3 separate regions of the Homo sapiens genome follow, and all the other regions are linked to region 2. The links are contacts of gene promoters, found by promoter capture Hi-C in human tissues and cell types (Jung and others, 2019). All regions are on one chromosome and are shown on one strand. Each heading gives the region's core, a stretch centred on a gene start or on the middle of the fragment in contact. The rest is flanking DNA. Distances are from core to core; before and after follow the strand shown.

Region 1 (5,023 bases), core at 1,003-3,502, 68 kb before region 2:
TCAAACTCTCAGGAAATTAATCTCAAAATATCCTACACTTTAGAAATCACATAGCGCAGTGGTTTTCAAATCCTACTGCTAAGAATCTAAGAGTACCTGGGGAACAACTACAGTCCCATAAACATTCAATTAATATCTCCATTTTACAATGTTATTTACAATTTTTATTTGGAAGTAATTTCAAATTCACAAAAACTAATGCCAAAAAAAATTCCTGTTATCTCTCTTTACCCAGACTTACCTACTATTAACATTTTGTTTGCCTCATTTGCTCATCATTCATTTATTTAATTAAAAAAATTTTTTTGAGATGGAGTTTCCCTCTGTTGCCCAGGCTGGAGTGCAGTGGCATGATCTCAACTCATTGTCACTTCTGCCTCCTGGGCTCAAGCGACTCTCCTGCCTCAGCCTCCCAAGTAGTTGGGATTACAGGTGTGCTGACCGCGCCTGGCCTTTTGTTTGTTTTTCAGTTTGGGGTTTTTTTTATTTTTTTGAAAAAAAATTTTTAAATACAAAAATGAGCCGGGCATGATGGCGCGCACCTGTAGTCCCAGCTATTCGGGAGACTGAGGCAGGAGAATGGCATGAACCAGGAAGGCTGGGGTTGCAGTGAGTCAAGATGATGCCACTGTACTCCAGCCTGGGTGACAGAGGGAGACTCCATCTCAAAAAAAAAGAAAGAAAAATCTGTTGGTCAAATATCTCACCAGCGTATCATGGCTACACTAGTTCGCATTCACTGCTGATATTTTCAATGACCAAAACAAGGCTGGTTCACATTAACATCAAAAAACATATAAACAAATTTTAAAAGGTTAAAATTATTTAACATTTTAATTATTTCAGAAATGAGGCCAACATTTTAGGTGTGCTGTCAACATACAAAAATAATTCCAGCTCCTCTGAGACTGTCAGTGAATATCTGACTGCCACTAAGGTGCCAAATTGTCAAATGCAGCATAATGCATGAAAAGTGTTTTCTGTAAGACAATGAAGATTTAAACAGACTGAATGGCTTTTTTATTATTTCTCTCCAAAATGAACAATTGCCAATCAAGGAAAGCAAAGAATTGCTCGATCTTAGCGATTTAATTGTAAAACAAAAATATCTGACTCCTCTTATTTCAAGCTTCATATCAGTTTAATTAGAAAGTGTCTTCATGTTGCTAGGTGAACTACTTCAAAACCACCATCTGCAACTCCTTATCTGTGGGATTGTGTCTTCTTGCGACTTCACAAGCAAAACTAAAAACAAACTGGATGCTGAAAGTGATCATCCAAGTACCTTCCAAAATCCCTGATACTAAATTTGTGTTTTCATCGCACCACCTTCATTGTACTTACTGATTTTATAAGTCAATGTTCTAAAACTTAATTTTAAAAACAAATACCCAGAAGATACAGTTTTCATCTATTTTACATCTAGAACCATCATATACTATTATATAATTTTTTTTTTGAGACAGAGTCTCGCTCTGTCGCCCGGGCTGGAGTGCAGTGGTGCGATCTCGGCTCACTGCAAGCTCCGCCTCTGGGGTTCACACCATTCTCCTGCCTCAGCCTCCCGAGTAGCTGGGACTACAGGCGCCCGCCACCATGCCCGGCTAATTTTTGTATTTTTAGTAGATACAGGGTTTCGCCATGTTAGCCAGGATGGTCTCGATCTCCTGACCTCGTGATCCGCCCACTTCGGCCTCCCAAAGTGCTGGGATTACAGGCATGAGCCACCGTGCCCGGCCCATAAAATTTTATTTATAAAAAATAGGATTTTCCTAGTTTTAAACAAATTTTTGATACCCACTGATTTATTCACCACTGTTGGATGAATAAAGCACAAGAAGGGATGAAAGAAAACAGAGGGTGATATCTTACTAAGTACTTAAGTGCCACTACCTTAACAAGTCAAATGGAGGTTCCTATAGTGTTTTCAGGCTTGCTTTTTTTTTTTTTTTTTTTTTTTGAGATGGAGTCTCACTTTGTCACCCAGTTTGGAGTGCAGTGGCATGATCTGAGCTCACTGCAACCTCTGCTTCCTGGGTTCAAGCGATTCTCCTGTCTCAGCCTCCTGAGTAGCCAGGATTACAGGTACATGCCATCACACCCGGCTAATTTTTGTATTTTTAGTAGAGATGGGGTTTCACCTTGTCGGCCAGTCTGGTCTCGAACTCCTGACCTCAAGTGATCTGCCAGCCTTGGCTTCCCAAAGTGTTGGGATTACAGGCGTGAGCCACCGCACCCGGCCCGGTTTACATCTCTTGCAAACATAGCTGAGTCTTACTCGAACCTCCCTAAACTTTTCCCAAACTCATGAAGTGACAATGGCCGAGCCAGAAGCTAAGCTGCTGGGCTGTGAATTGGAGTCTCTCTTCATTTCCCCAAGGGTTCACATAGTTTCCCACACCATCTGAGGAGGTGTTATTTACCAGGGACTCCTATGAGCCAGTCACAGTGGCACACACCTTACAGAGCTTATCTCATTTTAAGCTTTGCCATAGCCTATGAGGTAAGCATTACTGTCCACATTTTGTAGACACTAATCAGCAGGCAGTATATAGATGATCCTGTATCTCCATACTCTCACTGCCGATCATAAATCATGACACTTTGTCCTGACTTAACCACCAAGACTAATCAAACGTCCCTTCCATTCCATCCATACAGCCACAGTCCCACACACTAATGGAACTCACGACCTTCCTTGATGAATGCTCTAATTCATCTTCCACCCAATTCTTCAAACCTATCCTACACTCACCTATAAAAACCATTCTCCTAAAAAACGTCATTTTGATCACTATTTTGATGGTTATTTCCATGTGGTAATTTCCAGTTGACTCTCATCTCAAATTAAAAACAATCTATGATTGTCTTCCATAAACTGTTCATTTTCCATCCCTAATTCTGCTATACCCCCAATCCTTATTCCATACAGCAATCAAACACTAGCTGATGAACCTGCAATCGGTCCTGCTCAATCCCATGTGTGACTTTCACATGCCACCGCCCTGGCCTAGAATATCTCCCCTTCTCCTCCTAACAAATCATGCCTCTCCCCAGTACCCATCAACTCCCTAAGACTCTCAGGCAACACCTTCGTCAGTATTATTGCAAACTGCCATTTACCTTGCCCAGTCCTCCCAAAGGGAGATGCTGGGCTAGAGTCAAAATCAAGCCCCATTCGCTACTTGATGTGTCACCTCAATCCTCTAGCTGGCTTACAAGTTACTGTATAGCCCAAGCCCATCCAAACAAAACTATATCCACACTCTAAAAGAAACTTCTCAAATCAGGTCTACTCCTTCCCTGCCTGTATTCATTCCTACCTTCAGGTTGCCTTTAGTCACTGCTTAAGATTGGAAGCACATGGTGACTCATGCCTGTAATTCCAGCACTTTGGGAGGCCAAGGCGGGCAGATCACTTGAGGTCAGGAGATCGAGACCAGCGTGGCCAATATGGTGAAATCCTGCCTCTACTAAAAATACAAAAATTAGCCAGGCGTGATGGCAGGCGCCTGTATTCCCAGCTACTCTGGAGGCTGAGGCAGGAGAATAGCTTGAACCCGGGAGGCAGAGGTTGCAGTGAGCTGAGATCACACCACTGCACTCCAGCCTGGGAGACAGAGCCAGACACCATCAAAAAAAAAAAAAAAAAAAACAACTGGAAGTGCACATTAACCTCTAGAAGCAAAAGGAGTGGATACTGGACAATAGGGCTAGTGGGAGAGTAGAAGAATCAGTATGTCAAACGGCTCTTGCTGCCACAGTACAATCGTGAATTTCCTCTGTAGAGCTCTATTCTTAGAGTCATGTCTAGCATGATTAGTCTAGGAAGACAGGCTCGTGGGAAGGCTTGGGGAGGGCCATCAGATCTAGGCCTTATAAAAAGAAGAATTTTTATTTTTCTTGATGTTGGCTAAATGGTAAAAACTCAAAAGCCAAAATTAGATAAAAGATGCCTTAGGAGGCCACAGTAAACCTCCTGGAACCAGCCCAGCCCAATCTGATCCTTCCTTTCTGTTAACACCACGTTTCCTGGAGCACATGTGAGTTTCATGAGATAGGACTGCAAACTAGAAAGAAGGGCATCAGGCCAGGCGCAGTGGCTCATAACTGTAATCCAGTGCTTTGGGAGGCCGAGGCGGGCAGATCACCTGAGGTCAGGAGTTCAAGACTAGTCTGGCCAACGTGGTGAAACCTGGTCTCTAACTAAAAATACAAAAATTAGCTGGCGTGGTGGCACACACCTGTAATCCCAGCTACTCGGGAGACTGAGGCAAGAGAATCGCTTGAACCCAGGGGGCAGAGGTTGCAGGGTTGCAGTGAGCTGAGATCATGCCACTGCACTCAAGCCTGGGCAACAGAGTGAGACTCGGAAGAAAGAGAGAAAGAGAGACACAGAGAGAGAGAGAGAGAGAAAAGGGAAAGGAAGGGAAGGGGAAGGGAAGGGAAGGGGAAGGGAAGGGAAGGGGAAGGGAAGGGGAGGGGAGGGGAGGGAAGGGAAGGGAGAAGGAAGGAAGAGAGAGAGAGAAAGAAAGAAGGGCATGCAGAGACAGTAGGGTGCTCCCTCAAGACCGAATAATCAGCCAGGGAGATAATGACAGACAAAATCAGGGGCCGAGATAATGACAGATAAAATCAGGGGCCCTGCACTCCCAACAGCTTATAAAGTAAAATGGAAATAAAACCATGTGTCTGAAGGAAGCATAGGGTACCATGACAACATTTCAAAGGAAGATTGATCATGTCGAGGTAGTCAGATTAGGCAGTGACTCTGAGCCGGGGCTGTGCCCAATAATATAAAGCCTTTTAAGCCGTAGTATGGTTTTGCTTAGGTTTTTGGATGATAATGAGTCTGGGTGGGGTTTTTAGGTTTTTGCTCTTTATCCTAAAAACAAAGAGAAGCGTCTGAAGACTTACGCAGGTGAATGGCATCATCAGATTGAACTGCCACAAACTACTCAGGCTACAGTGTGTCTGAGGGACTGGAGAGTGGCAGTGAGGAGACCGCCAGGAGGAGGCAGAA
Region 2 (4,331 bases), core at 332-2,831:
CTGGAGCCTTTTGCTGGACTTGTGATAGGGGTGTGGCTTGCTTACCTGGCACCACGCTCTAACTCCTTGTGGGAGGGGAAGCACGCAGGCGAGTGGGTGCGAGGGCCAGGACAAGCGCTTTTGGACTCCAGCCTCGTGGTACCATCTAGGGGTGTGTTACAATTAATTCTCTTTATTTTATTTTATTATTTTTTTGAGACAGAGTCTCTCACTGTCACCCGGGCTGGAGGGCAATGGCGCGATCTTGGCTCACTGCAACCTCCACCTCCTGGGTTCATGCAATTCTCCTGCCTCAGCCTCCCAAGTAGCTGGGATTACAGGTGCACACCACCACACCCAGCTAAATTTTTGTATTTTTAGTAGAGATGGGGTTTCATTATGTTGGCCAGACTGGTCTTGAACTCCTGACCTCTTGATCCGCTCAACTCAGCCTCCCAAAGTGCTGGGATTATAGGCGTGAGCCACCGCGCCCGGCCAATGTTAGCTATTATTAATGGACAATTATGACTAATTATGAAGTACTTTCTTTTAAAAGCCTAGATCTCTAAGTAATGTCTTCCTCCCTCAGTCCTCAGCACCCGCCTGGTCGGGCATTGGGTCTCACCAAGCTACAGAGCCCTAGGTGCGCTGTGTTAGGTCACCAAGACTTTAGTCTGGTGATACTGACCCCAGGGCCCCAAATCACCATGTCTGCAAGTCTGGAACCCAAAGGCCTCCGTTCCCCGGGGTGGTGCAGGGAAGCCGCAGGGAGTGCGTCAGCTGTGGAGAGCGTAGGGGTGGGAAGTGAAGGCTGTGGGGTCCCCCAGGGGGTCAGGTTCGTCCTCGAAGGCAGGCCCTCCACAGGAAGACCTGGTTGGGGTGGGATCGGACACGCGGCCCAGACCCAGGCACCTGTGGATGGACGGCCGGGCATGTGGCCATCGGCTGGGGGCCTCTGCAGGCCGCGCCACCAGAGTGGGCACTCAGGGTCCGCAAGGGTCTGGGGCGCCCCCAGAGAAGCCCGCCGCCCCAGGCCGGTGCGGAGTTGACTGGGTCCCCCCGGCCCCGTGTCTGTCAGCTCCCGCGCGGCCCCTGGGAAGGGACGCGGATCGGATGCGGGCTCCGGGCCCTGCAGGCAGTTGAGAGCGCGGTTCCCTTGGGTATCCGGGGTCCGGGGTCACTTTCGCGCCTCCGCACTATTCCCACGCCCGCGCGCACTCTCGTGGCCATCCGCGTTGCGAGAGTGTCGCGCCCGGAGGTCAGGGGCGTGGAGCCCGGGCCCCCGAGTCTCCCCTGCGTGCGGCGGGGCGCGGGGCGCGGGGCGCGGGGCGCAGGGCTGAGGCGGAGCACAATGGTTGAATGAATGAATGAACGAACGAATGAACGGCGCTGCAGAGCCCTCTCCAGGCGGAATGAAAGTGCAAACCCAGCGTTTCGGGCGGCAGAGTGGCGGGGGCCACCTGGCGCGGCCGCGCGGCCAGGGTCCGGTTTCGCTTCCTCCCAGCCCGGGGGCGGGGCCTGCGTGGCTGTCCCCGCCCCGGTCCGCCCCCGGCCAGCCCCCGGCGCCGCGCGGAACTCGCGGGTTCGGAGCCGCCCGCTGAGGTCAGAAGGAGGCGTCTGCGCTGATCGGGTCCGCCGCGCGCCAGAGCCAGAGTCGCAGCCGAGGGGAGCCGGGGCCGGAGCCCGAGCCCGAGCCGAGCCGGAGCCCGAGCGAGCGGCGGAGACCGTGCCCCCGCCTCGGCCCCGCGCCGCCGCGGCCAGGCCCGGCATGGAGGAGGAGTGCCGGGTGCTCTCCATACAGAGCCACGTCATCCGCGGCTACGTGGGCAACCGGGCGGCCACGTTCCCGCTGCAGGTACGCATCCGCCCGCAGCCCGGGCTTACGTAACCCGAGCCCGTGACCTTGGCGGGGCTGCCCGAGACGAGCCTCAGTTCCCCGAGGGAGGCTCGGGAGCTGCGGGCAGAGCCTGGCGCGGGCGCCCTGGAGGCAGGCGCGGGATGAGCCTCCCGCTCTGCTTGGCTTGCGGGGGCGGAAGCGGAGGGCTGAGCGCTCTGCGGGCCCCTGCGGGTGGGACGGGTCCGGCGTCGGGGTACGCGGGTAGGAGGGAGCCCTGTGCACCAGCTATGGCGCAGCCGCTCGTCCTCGCCCCTTCCCGCCGACCGGGCCAACTGCCGCGGGGGCGGGCGGGCGGTGCGGCTCCCGGAGGCGAGGAAATGTCGCAGAGCCCCGAGGAGTCCCGGAGCAGTCACGCGAGCCGGGACCTTGCCCCGCTGGAACGCAGAAGCGGCCGTGGAGCTCGAGACGCTCGCGCGCTCACCTCCTGGGCCCCTGTGCGTGGGGAAGTCAGGAAGAAGACGCCGAGTGAGGTCACGGTGCCCACGAGGGTGGATTCCCCTCGGCCTGACCACGCCAGGAGGTGGCCGAAGGGAAGAGGGTGGGGCAGGGGCTGCTCTGCACCCTCTAGCAGAGCGGCATCCCTGCAGGTGTTTGCTCTGACGAGGAGAAGCCCCAGAGAGCAGTTCGGGACTGTGCGGATTGGCTTTAGGGAGCCAGCTTTTAAAACGCGTTGGCCCACGGCCTCCTGGTTGCAGCTAAGTGGCCCGTGGAGGGGTAGGAGAGGCCTGGGTGCAGTGGCGTGGGTGTCACGCAGGGCCGAGGCAGAACCAGGACGACGGGCACTTCCTGGCCTTGTCGAGTCAGCAGGAGGGCTGGGGGTGCCCTGCCGGGTCGTGCTCTCCTGTGCTGCCCACCTGCGGCCTGGTCACTGGGGACGGGAGCAGGTATGCCTGGTCCCTGTGCTGGGCCCCACGGGATGTAAAGAAGGGCCACCTGGGCACGGCGGGGCCTGCGGTGCGGGCTGGCCTGGGAGGAGGACAGGAAGAGGGGAGCAGAGCTTCAGTGGAATTTGAGGGCTGACCTAGGCGTGCCCCCAGGAGGACCAAGCTGAGCAGAGTTGAGCGTGGAAAGGCAGGGGGTTCGAGTCCGAAGTAAGTGGAGGTCCTGTTGGGAAGGATGCGGTGCTTCACAGGTGGTCTTACTTGAGACCCTGTTCCATCCAGCTGCAGGCAGACCCTGCCTGGGACAGTCAGGGTGCACCGGTTCTGTGGCTCCGGCTCTTAAGCACTGCTCTGGACCACTCCTAGCTTGAGGGGGTTGGGGGAGGTCACCACAGGCTGGCGGATTGCTTGGGCAGAGTCAGAGGTAGGATTGGGCTTGGGAAGAAAGGTGCAGGGTGCCTGAAGCAGGGGCAGCCAGGCAGTGTGGAACCAGGGGGCTCTGAGGACAGCGTCCACTCTCTTGGCAGAAGTGTGCAGGTCCTGCTGTGTCTGTCCCGTCCCTCCTCCCATCCACCTCCTACTTCATTGGGCAAACTGTTTCCTTCTTTGGCTCACTCGGGATCCCCCAGCAATGTCCTTTGTTCTCGAACTCCCAGTGACTCGAGGGGTGTCCTCTGATTGCTCACCTCAGGTGGAGCCTCGAAAGGATGGCGCTGCTGTTCCTACCTCGGGTCTCCCCAGTGCACGGCATCCTTACCTGTGGGCTCCACAGGGTTCCATGCAGGCATTTTGCTCCCATACCCCGATGTCCAAGCCCGGCTGGACAAGGAGAAGCAATGTGATGACCGAGGGGCTGAGATGGCTGGAGACCCAGCGAGCCTGGACCAGCCTTAGTGGGCACAGGAGGGAATGGGGGACAGAGCCTGGAAATGGCCTTGGGGCCAGTGTTTGCCGCTTCTAGCTGCAGTTCCAAGGGGACGTGTCCCCAAAGTCTAGAGCTGCTCTTGCAAGAGTTTGTTCTTGATTTTGATCATCACATGTGGCTTAGGACTCCAAAGCCTTGTTCACATAGCTGAATGTGAGGAAAGAAAACTTAGAAACTGGCAGAACATAGCCTCTGGCTGGGCCCCAGAGATTTGCCTCAAGGCTACTTGGAATGAGACTGGAGAATGCCTCAGGGGTGTGGCATGTAGCAGGGCGGCTGGAGAGGCGCCTTATGGGGACTGACCCAGGTGTCTGGGGGTCCCACCTCAAAGCAGGTGTCTCCACATCTTGGAATTCCAGCTGAGGGACCTGGCCCTGGTTTCTGAGCCTTCCGGAGTCTCACCTGCAAACTAGGCACAATACCTGTTTGCAAGATAGCACCAGGGCTCCTTGTGCCCTTCATGCCAGGCTCAGGGTACACCTATTGCCAGGGAGCTCCCACTGATTCCTTGTGAGTGTAGCACAGATTTGTTGCGACTGGACCATCTGCACGTCTGGGCTTCAGAGCTGTTCTCCCCAGCTGTTTTCTGCCAGGTCCTGTCAGAGGCAGCCACCCTCCCTGGGCAGAGCAAAACCTTGAGCCTGTGTTT
Region 3 (4,918 bases), core at 629-3,128, 110 kb before region 2:
GGATGGAAACGCCAGGGTCATGTCACAGCAGCGGAGAAAGAGGAGCCGTAGAAAGGAGACTCTGGGCCCTCCACATGCAGCTCAGTGCCAGGACAGCGCTCAGGGCCCCCCGCAATCCCAAGGTCCAGGCACAGCACAGATCCTGCCCACACCAGGCCCTGGGAGCACAAGCCTGGGTGACCAGTGGCCGGAGGGGAAGGAAATGGACTGAGGTGGTGACGAAGGGGGACACTCCTGACACATGTCATTCCATGGCTGAATGACTAAGGAGAAATACACAGAGATGAAACAGACAGAACCCTGCCAGGGGCATGCCACCAGCTGACTGCACTGAACTGCCGCAGCCTTGGCTGACAGAGCTCACCCTGCACACAGTTCTGTCAAGTGGCCATCTCCAGCAGACACCTGAGAGGCTGATGGGAATGGGGAAAATTACCCATGAGGTATGGCTAAGACTGAAAAGCTATGACCACTACAGTAAACAGAATCCAGTCATCCTGCTGGCAGCACCAACCACCTTGAGGGGCCTCCAAGGTCAGCTGGTGTGTCTGGCCACCATATGCTGGAAGTTCCTAGATTTGGAGAGTTAAAAACAGGGTCTTCACAAAAAAAGGCAGATAAACTAGGAACAGCCCGAAACCATATGGCTGGGGAGGCTATGCCACTGAAAAAACTCACAGAGGCTGAGTCACAACAATGTCCCATGTACAACCCTATGAATGTTTGCCACAAAAGACATGGACATGTGGCCCAATAGCAGAATCCAGTCTGATCCACCACTGACCTGCAGGGCCCACAGGGATTTCTGGGGGAGGCAAAAAGAACACACCATGAGCCAGCTCTGCATTCTGGGAAAATGCAACATGTCATGGTAAACGCAGGCTGGCTAGTGGTTTGAAAGGGCAGCCGTGGCCTGGGAAGACAAAAGGCTAAACAGGAGCCAGTGGAGCAGGAGCGCTGGAAATACTGGAGCAAGAAATGACAGGCAACAGGGCACATCCCAGAGGAAGGCTCAACACAGAGGCAGGAGGATTACACACACACACCACAGCACACAGCACACACCACACACCACTCACCACTCACACACATCACACATACCACACACCACTCACACACATCACACACACCACACACACCATGCACAAACCACAAACACACCACACACACACACATCACGCACACACCACACACACACCACACAGCACGCACACCACACACACACCACACACACTACACACACACCATACACACCCCACACACCACACCACACACACACCACGCACACACCACACACACAACACACAGCACGCACACCATACACACACACACCACACACTACACACACTATACACACCCCACACACACACCACACACACCATACACACCCCACACACATTGCACACACACCAATATACACACACCACCATACACACATCACACATACCACATCATACACCACACAATCATACAGCACACACACCACACACACACCACACACACACACCACCACACACCACACACACACTACACACTGCACTCACACGCATCTCAGACACCACATACACCACACACACACCACTCACACACCATACGCACACCACTCGCATGCCACACCACACACATGCCACACTACACGCCACACACACCACCCACATCGCACACCACACACACCACACATCACACACACCACACCCACACACCACATACACACCATACACTACACACCACACACATCACACACACACCACAAAGACACATCACATACCACAGACATCACACACCATACACCACACACACACTACACACCACACACACATCACACATCACACCACACACATCAGACACCACACACACATCACACACACCACATACCCACCACACACACACCAGACACCACACACATCACACGTACCACATAACACAACACACATACATCACACACATCACACACACACCACACAGATACCACACACACATCAGACACACCACACACACACCAGCTGACTGCACTAATTGCCCCAGCCTTGGCTGACAGAGCCCACACACCCACACCACACACATACCAGACACACACCACACACCACGCACCCACATCACACACCACAGATCACACACACATCACACCCCACACACAACACACCAGCTGACTGCACTAACTGCCCCAGCCTTGGCTGAAAGAGCCCACAAACACACATCACCCACCCCCCGACACACACACCACACACACACCACACATTCCCCACACCACACACACACTCCAACACACACACATACACACACCCCCACATATGCAGCCCACACACCCCCACACGCCACACCCACACACACACCCACACATATCCCCCCACGCACCTCCCACAAACACACATACCCCATACCCTCCACATGTACATACACACCACAAACATCCCCCAACATACACATACCACACACACACATCCCCCTCACATAGCCACACACACCATGCATACCACACCCACATCTCCACCCACACACAAAATACACACATCCCAATCCCTCATAGTCCCACATATACAAACACACCACAGTCACACACATCACATGACACCCACCTCCCCCCAACATATATACACACACACCACACACATTCCCTCACACTCACACCATAAACATGCCCCACACAAACGCATACACACCATACACCCCAAAAAATACCCACATACACATACACCACACCCAAATACATCCTCATTTCCCCACGCCCCGCCACATATACACACCCACACCACACACACACATCCAGGCCATACGTGCCTCTGACACGTGAGAAGAAAAAGCAAAGGGGAGTGGAATAAACAAGGGAGGGCCAAGCTGAGGCGGCCACACTCACACCCTTGACTCTGTGCAGCAGGAAGTAAAGCCGCCTGCCGGGACACCCACCTACCAAGGAAGAGCAGAGCAGGAAGTAAAGCCGCCTGCCGGGACACCCACCTACCAAGGAAGAGCAGAGCAGGGAGGCCGTGAGGATCACACCCGAGGTCTGCCTCCACCAGTGTGGAAATGAGTGGGAGCTGAGAAAGGACATAGAAGAGGATTCCAGGGTGCTGGAAACCGGGAGAAATGACGAGAGTCCGTGCACACAAGAAAGCTTCTTCCCAAACCTCACTCAACAGCCCCAGCTGTAGGAACAGAGAAGAAGGATGGCTGGGCTGATCCAAGGTTGAAAGCATCAGGAAATGTGATGCACACTGGGGCTGGGTGAGCTGGAGGGAGGGGAGGCCATGGAGGCAATGGTGTGAGCAGGAGGAAAGAGGAGGGAGGAGGAGCAGGAGGTCTTGCAGTTTAGAGGGAACAATGGTAGGAAAAGGAGGCAGGGAGGAGAGGAGGTATGGCCTGAGTGCTACAGCAATGTTTACCAGACAGTCCACCTGATGACAATGTGCAGGGTCTGGCCCAAGGCAGACTACTGCCACAGTGAAGGGCACAGCAAATCTTGGGAGCTGAGAAAGGCAGGTGGCCTTGAAATTAGATTGTTGAATGAATCACCCCTAAACATGTTCAAGTCATTCAAGATAGCAGGAAATGGGGAGGGGGACACCAACAAGCCAGTACTCAGTGAACAAGGGAAATGCCTGGATGGTCAGAAAAGTACAGTGATGAGAAAGGCTGGATGTGAAGAGAGCAACTGGTTGCTTGAATTTTCAAGGAGGAAAAAAATTCGCATGAGATTGGAAGAGAAACAGCCTTTTAAAAATGAGCATTCTGGGACATTTCATTAAAAATAAAAATGGGCAGCTAGAAGAAACACTTCCCCTAAGAACTGGAATAAGACATAGAGATATCCACTCTTACCGCACCTATTCAACACAGAACTGGAGGCCAGGTGTGGTGGCTCAAGCCTGTAGTCCCAGCACTTTGGGAAGAGCCAAGGAAGGCGGATCACTTGAGCTCAGGAGTTCAAGACCAGCTTGTGCAACATGGCGAAACCCTGTCTCTACAAAAAACTACAGAAATTAGTCAGGTGTGGTGGCACACACCTGTAGTCCCAGCTACTCAGGATGCTCAGGCAGGAGAATCGCTTGAGATCAGCAGGTCGAGGCTGCAGTGAGCCGTGATTATGCCACTGCACTCCAGCCTGGGTAAAAGGGTGAGACCCTGTCTCAAAAAAAAAAAAAAAGGTTCAAGCTGAGAGCCAAATCAACAACACAATCCTATTTACAACAGCCACACACACACACAAAAACCTAGGAATACATCTAACCAAGGGAGTGAAAGATCTCTTCAAGAAGAACTACAGAACACTGCTGAAAGAAGTATCATAGATGACACAACTGGAAAAACATTCATGTTCATGGACTGGAAGAATCAATATCATGAAAATGTCCAAACTGCCCAAAGCAATCTACAGATTCAATGCTATTGCTATTAAATTACCAACATCATTTTTCATAGAATTAGAACAAACTCTTCTAAAATTCTTATAGAACCAAAAAAGAGCCCAAATAGCCAAAGCAACGCTAAGAAAAAAGAACAAAGCTAGAGCCATCACACTGCCCACCTTCAAACTATACTACCAGGCTACACTAACTAAAACAGCATAACACTGGTACAAAAATAAACACATAGACCAATGGAACAGAATACAGAACCCAGAAATTAAAGCTGCACACATACAGCCAATTGACCTTTGACAACATTGACAAAAATAAGCAATGAGGAAAGGACTCCCTGTTCAATAAATGGTGCTGGGAAAAATAGCTAACCATATGTAAACGAATGAAACTGGACCACTACCTCTAACCACAGATAAAAATTAACTCAAGATGGATTAAGGACTTAAATGTAAGACCTCAAACTATAAAAGTCCTAGAACAAAATCTAGGAAATAGTCTTCTGGATATCGGCCTAGGCAAAGAATTTGACTGAGTCCTCAAAAGCAATTGCAACAAAACCG

The links. The method cuts DNA at HindIII sites, captures the fragments that hold promoters and counts their contacts. A contact is called where the count stands out against the background at its distance.
Region 1: a fragment that was not itself captured here is called in contact with the fragment with the promoter of PDXK in region 2 in 4 of the 25 tissues and cell types used here (H1 embryonic stem cells, dorsolateral prefrontal cortex, lymphoblastoid cells and 1 more).
Region 3: a contact is called between a fragment that was not itself captured here and the fragment with the promoter of PDXK in region 2, in 4 of the 25 tissues and cell types used here (dorsolateral prefrontal cortex, lymphoblastoid cells, small bowel and 1 more).

What each region holds. Positions count from the first base shown.
Region 1 is chr21:43,648,766-43,653,788 of GRCh38, forward strand. All of the region lies in intron 3 of HSF2BP (heat shock transcription factor 2 binding protein), which reads right to left. Among named protein-coding and RNA genes, the nearest start is that of HSF2BP, 8.2 kb to the right of the region's middle. The HindIII fragment of the contact is 6,133 bases long and covers 1-5,023 here.
Region 2 is chr21:43,717,548-43,721,878 of GRCh38, forward strand. It overlaps PDXK (pyridoxal kinase), which reads left to right and starts at 1,582. Exons shown (of 11, transcript NM_003681.5): 1 at 1,582-1,834. The coding sequence starts at 1,748. It overlaps LOC124905032 (a long non-coding RNA gene), which reads right to left and starts at 1,001. Exons shown (of 2, transcript XR_007067896.1): 1 at 668-1,001; 2 at 1-145. RefSeq lists enhancers at 884-933, 2,275-3,184 and silencers at 1,084-1,873, 1,914-2,223, 2,381-2,570. The HindIII fragment of the contact is 22,908 bases long and covers 1-4,331 here.
Region 3 is chr21:43,603,164-43,608,081 of GRCh38, forward strand. The region is part of intron 7 of HSF2BP (heat shock transcription factor 2 binding protein); the gene reads right to left. Among named protein-coding and RNA genes, the nearest start is that of MIR6070, 4.4 kb to the right of the region's middle. The HindIII fragment of the contact is 7,535 bases long and covers 1-4,918 here.